Linked DNA regions of Homo sapiens: region 1 is linked to region 2. The links are contacts of gene promoters, found by promoter capture Hi-C in human tissues and cell types (Jung and others, 2019). All regions are on one chromosome and are shown on one strand. Each heading gives the region's core, a stretch centred on a gene start or on the middle of the fragment in contact. The rest is flanking DNA. Distances are from core to core; before and after follow the strand shown. Region 1 has its middle 7.1 kb from the start of GLS. Region 2 holds the start of INPP1 (inositol polyphosphate-1-phosphatase).

Region 1 (2,700 bases), core at 33-2,532, 530 kb after region 2:
GGTGTGAGCCACCACGCCTGGCCAATTAAATTGCAATGTGAGTTTTGTCAAGGACATTCAAGCCACAGCAGAGTCTTTGGGTGGGCATTTCACTGATGGTTCAAAAGAAATGAGGATAAGTGCCAGATCTAGCTGAAGGGTATGTTTTCAGCAACTCTATTATTAATTAGCCATGTGACCTTATTAACTTATAATATCTCTAGCCATAACATTTAGCAATTGATACCTGTATTAGTCCATTTTCATGTTGCTGATAAAGACATACCTGAGACTGGGCAATTTACAAAAGAAAGAAGTTTAATGGACTTACAGTTCCACGCGGCTGGGGAGGCCCCACAATCATGGCGGAAGGTAAAAGGCACATCTCACATGGTAGCAGACAAGAGAAGAGAGCTTGTGTGGGGAAATTCCCCTTTTTAAAACCATCAGATCTCATGAGACGGATTCACTATCAGGAGAACAGCACAGGAAAAACCTGCCCCCATGATTCAATTACTTGCCACCAGGTCCCTCCCACAACACATGGGAATTCAAGATGAGATTTGAGTGGGGACACAGCCAAACCATATCAACACCTGTCTCCAACAGAAATGTTACAAACATAAATAGCCTCTTTAACATCAAAGGAAGGAAGAATATATTTCTTATTCATATGTTATTAGTAAAGTAATTGCTTTCATATTTATCTCTGAGATAGTAAAAAAATATAATTTTAATGTTTTTCTGTCAAATATGTCATTCTTATCTTTAATAAAACCTTTATTTCAGGGGTAGTAACTCTTGATTGTCCTTTTGAAAAATAATTTACAGGGTAGCTGTATTGCTTACTAGTTATATCAGTCAGCATTGGTTAGGCGAAATTAAGTTTAAAAGGAGCCATTAAAATGTATCATAGAATTTGTAATATTTTCTACACATATAATAATTGTTAGAGGGCTGTAATGGGTTTCAACATTGAAATAAAGCTTATTTTCTTTTTTTGAGACAGAGTCTCGCTCTGTTGCCCAGGCTGGAGTACAACGGCGCAATCTCGGCTCACTGCAACCTCCGCCTTCCGGATTCAAGCAATTCTCCTCCCTCAGCCTCCCAAGTACCTGGGACTACAGGCGCACACCACCACACCCAACTAATTTTTGTATTTTTAGTAGAGACGGGATTTCACCATGTTGGTCAGGCTGATCTCAAACTCCTGACCTCGTGATCTGCCCGCTTTGGCATCCTGAAGTGTTGGGATGACAGGCGTCAGCCACTGTGCCCGGCCAAGCTTATTTTCTTTTATCACAAAATATTTCAAATACACAGAAAAGGGAACATAACAAACCATATTTGCCTGTTTGCTTCAGATTTTTAAAATTATTAAGAAATTAATCATGCCGGGCGCAGTGGCTCATGCCTGTAATCCCAGCACTTTGGGAAGCTGAGGTGGGTGGATCACAAGGTCAGGAATTTGAGATCAGCCTGGCCAACATGGTGAAATCCCATCTCTACTAAAATACAAAAATTAGTGGGGCATGGTGGCATGCGCCTGTAATCCCAGCTGCTTGGGAGGCTGAGGCAGGAGAATCACTTGAACCCAGGAAGCGGAGGTTGTGGTGAGCCGAGATCATGCCATTGCACTCCAGCCTGGGCAACAACAGTGAAACTCTATCAAACAAAAAAACAAACAAAATGAAGTTAATCATTACAGATACAGTTTTCACTCTCTGTGTACAACTCTTCAATGCCATTCTCCATTACATATTTAGAAACAATAATCACTATACTGAATTTGATGTTTGCCATTCCTGTGCATGTTTTAAACATTTAAACAAAATCTGTATAAATCTATAAATAATATATTGTTTTGCATGTTTTAACATCATAGTATTATAAGGCCGGGCACAGTGGCTCATGCCTGTAATCTCAGCACTTTGGGAGGCCAAGGCAGGTGGATCACGAGGTCAAGAGATCGAGACCAGCCCGGCCAACATGGTGAAACACTGTCTCTACTAAAAATACAAAAATTAGCCAGGCATGGTGGCAGGCACCTGTAGTTCCAGCTACTTGGGAGACTGAGGCAGGAGAATTGCTTGAACTTGGGAGGCGGAGGTTGCAGTGAGCCGAGATTGCACCATTGCCCTCCAGACTGGGTGACAGAGCAAGACTCCGTCTCAAAAAAAAAAAAAAAAAAATCAAGGTAGTATAATATATATACACCCATATGTAACTTTTACCCCTTCGACATTGTTTTTGAGACTTATTCACTTAATATAGGAAACTAGGGATCATTAGTTTTAAATAATGTGCATTACATAATGTGTGCCATGTTATGTTAATCCATTCTTCTACTGATAAACATTTAGGTTGTTTCTACAGAGTTTTCAAAATACATTGTACTGGCTGGGCGCGGTGGCTCCTGCCTGTAATCCCAACACTTTGGGAGGCCAAGGTGGGCGGATCATGAGGTCAGGAGATCGAGACCATTCTGCCCAACATGGTGAAACCCTGTCTCTACCAAAAATACAAAAATTAGCTGGGTGTGGTGGCATGTGCCTGTAATCCCAACTACTTGGGAGGCTGAGGCACGAGAATCGCTTGAACCCAGCAGGCAGAGGTTGCAGTGAGCTGAGATCGCACCACTGCACTCCAGCCTGGCCACAGAGTGAGACTCTGTCTCAAAAAAAAAAAAAAAAAAAAAAAAAAATATATATATATATAGTA
Region 2 (2,849 bases), core at 87-2,586:
CACTCCAGCCTGGGCGACAGAGTGAGACTCTATCTTAAAAATAAAAAAAAAAGAAAAGAAAAGAAAAGAAAAATGGACTAGATTTATATCCCTTGCTCCACCCTGTCTTCCCCAAATTTAAATTCCTGCTTCCTAGAGGCAAATTCTTTCACCTTCTATGTCTCTGGTATTTATCTCCTTACTTTTAAGAATCATGTTTAAATTGTTTCTTGATTTTGCCATCATAGATATGATTATGAGGCTAATTAAACAGTAATCCTAACCGCTCTGAGAATGGACCTAAGAAATGAATGTGAGAAAGAAAGTAGAAGCAGCCCACTTGCTAGTGAGTGAAAGCCAGGGAAGGGTGGGGGGATGCGGGGAGAAATTGTCTCAAGTTGGAGAACCCAGGTGCAGGCTGGGAGCAGTACCATGAATTCCATTCAAGAAGCCAAACGTTTTAAGCACCATTTCCTGGAGTTTGCCAAGTTGAGTATTGACCCAGCCTCCTGTCTTGTTGGTTCCTCACTGCTGAAGAAGACCAAGTGTTGACAACTCAGTGAGGCAGTCTCAGCTGGAGTGGAAAAATGTAGCTAAGAAAACGTGCCAGACAAAGCTTTAAGCAGAGCTTCCCAACTGGATGCCGTGAAACGAATGACAGGGATGCAGATACAGCATGGGTCTTCCCAGCCCTCCAAGTGCAAGGGCTTCTGCAGGAAGCCTTCTGCAGGAGCAGCCTCTTCTGTTTACCCCCATTTTGACCCTTGTAATATCATCCTTTCCTACCTGTGCCAAGAAGTGAAAAGGTGTGTGAAGCGCCGCTTTAGAAGGCCCAGTACATTCACAAACATCAGCTTCTGGGCGAGGCTGCTTGGCCTCTTCTATTCAAAACTTTGTGTTGCCCTTTTAAGGTTTCTATTCCCCCCACCCCCACCCCGCCCACCAACACCCATTCCTACCTAGGTTCAACCCAAACCATCCTTAAGGTACACTGAGTATCACAGCACCAAAGGCTGGAGAGAGATAAGTTCCCCACCCTTGATGCGCTTCCTGTCCAGGTGGCCCGAGGCCCACTCCTTAAGAGGCAAGGCCCAGAGACACTGCTGTGTCTTGAGGAACATCCAGTACACCTGACATTTCCATTAGAACAGTGGGACCCGGATACCACTGGCAGGAAGTCCATCTTCACAGCTGCCAACCCATCTGTCAAACCCGCAGTCCCCTATGAGAGTACAGATGAATGGAGGAGGAAGATTTAAAAGTGAATTCGTGGGCGGCGACAAGGAAACAGCAGCCGTGGCCAAGCTGACCCCAGAGCCCTTCCCTTCCTGGCCCTCCCTCTGAATCATCGCGCTCCACTTGTGACGTCGCGGACGCCCGGCTCGGGCAGGCGTGGGGGGCCCGCGCGTCCCGGGAGCCCCGAGGCGGCAGCGCGCGTTTCCACGCCGCGGTCCCGCGGGAAAGCCGGGGGCGGCGGCCTGGCTGAGGCCAAGCTCGGATCCGGTGCCGAGCCAAGCGGGGCCGTGCGTCGCCGGGGCTTCGCCTTCGCTCGCGTGACCTCCGCCGTCCTCCCCAACCCTCGTCCTCTGGCCGCGCCTGCGGCCGCACGCCCAGCGCCCCTCGCCTAACCTCGCGCCCGGGCCGCGCCTCCTCCTCCTCCTGCTCCCCGCCGCTTCCGTTTCTCGAGGGAAAGGCTGCTGCCTCCTGCTCTGTCCTCATCCCCGGCTTAGGTAACACGTTTTCCTCCTTACGACACCCACCACAGGGTCCCCGCGCCGCTGCCCCTCCTCCTTGGATCTGGGGCCCGGGCTGGTGAGCGGCGCGCGCCGTCGCCTCTCCGCGGGTAGGTGAGTCGATGGCGCCGGGAGGGTTCCTCGCCTCTGCGCGCCGGCCTGCGAGGTCCCTGCCCCGGCAGCGAGGCCGCCCCCGGCCGGGCCCGGCCAGGCATGCCCGGCATCGCCGCTGCAGCCAGCGCGGAGGGGAGCTCGTGAGTCCCGCGGCGCCCTTGGCCCTGCCCGAGCGGCCCGATGGGGTTGGGGGGCGGGAAGAAAGGGTGGCAAACAACGATTTTAAAAATCCAGTCATTAGTATTTGTAGGACGAAGAAGCTGATCTGACAGTTGTCCAGAGCAGTGGCCCAGCTGCAACAGGTAGATGGCGCAGCTGTCAGTGACCCCTTGGTCTCAGCCTTGGCTTTGAGAGATGCATCTGAGTGTCCCTAGCTGCCAGCTACCTCCAGTGACCTACTTGATGAGTGTGAAATAAATATGATGGGACTATATTTAGAAAAATCTTTACTTCCTTGCTGTTAATTCTCTCTGCATTTTGAAAGGTGGTTTTGTGAGGTGTGCATAATTAGTTGGTGTGTCCAGAGTGGTAGCTGGAAAAAAATATTTAACCTGGGTTTGGCCCTATCATGTAGACGGTTAGGCGCAAAGAGTGTGAAAGGAAACGCTTACTTTAGTACATCTGTGAAAAACACTTATAAGAAACCACGGCTTGTTTTTTGGAGATTTCTCATTTTAAAGGTATTTTTAAAGTGTTGAATAAGCAGAAGTTTGCCCACTGTATGATGGTGTTCACTTCAAAAGAACAGTGGGTTAAAAGTATGGACAGACCACTTAAGTGGATCCCATCTGTTGAGTAAAAGATTTTTTAGCCCTTTTACACTGATTCCTAGCTTTGAAGCCAGAAAAGTTGATAAGGATCAGCCCTGCTCAACTTGATAATAGTATAAGGATGAAAGTAATCCACTGAACTACTCTTGATTGGTGAATTAGCTAAGTGATCTCATTCTTACCTTTTAAAATAGAGAACATAAGGGAAAAAATAAAGGCAATGGAAGAATTCATTTTTTCAATACAGATATTT

Evidence for each region. The method cuts DNA at HindIII sites, captures the fragments that hold promoters and counts their contacts. A contact is called where the count stands out against the background at its distance.
Region 1: a fragment that was not itself captured here is called in contact with the fragment with the promoter of INPP1 in region 2 in 1 of the 25 tissues and cell types used here (hippocampus).

Annotation. Positions count from the first base shown.
Region 1 is chr2:190,872,339-190,875,038 of GRCh38, forward strand. No RefSeq gene overlaps it. Among named protein-coding and RNA genes, the nearest start is that of GLS, 7.1 kb to the right of the region's middle. The HindIII fragment of the contact is 3,999 bases long and covers 1-2,700 here.
Region 2 is chr2:190,342,253-190,345,101 of GRCh38, forward strand. It overlaps INPP1 (inositol polyphosphate-1-phosphatase), which reads left to right and starts at 1,337. Exons shown (of 7, transcript NM_001128928.2): 1 at 1,337-1,709. LOC124906109 (serine/arginine repetitive matrix protein 1) reads right to left here and starts at 2,797. Exons shown (of 1, transcript XM_047446773.1): 1 at 1-2,797. The coding sequence starts at 2,064. The coding sequence ends at 1,186. RefSeq lists silencers at 1,323-1,632, 1,703-2,032. The HindIII fragment of the contact is 3,445 bases long and covers 145-2,849 here.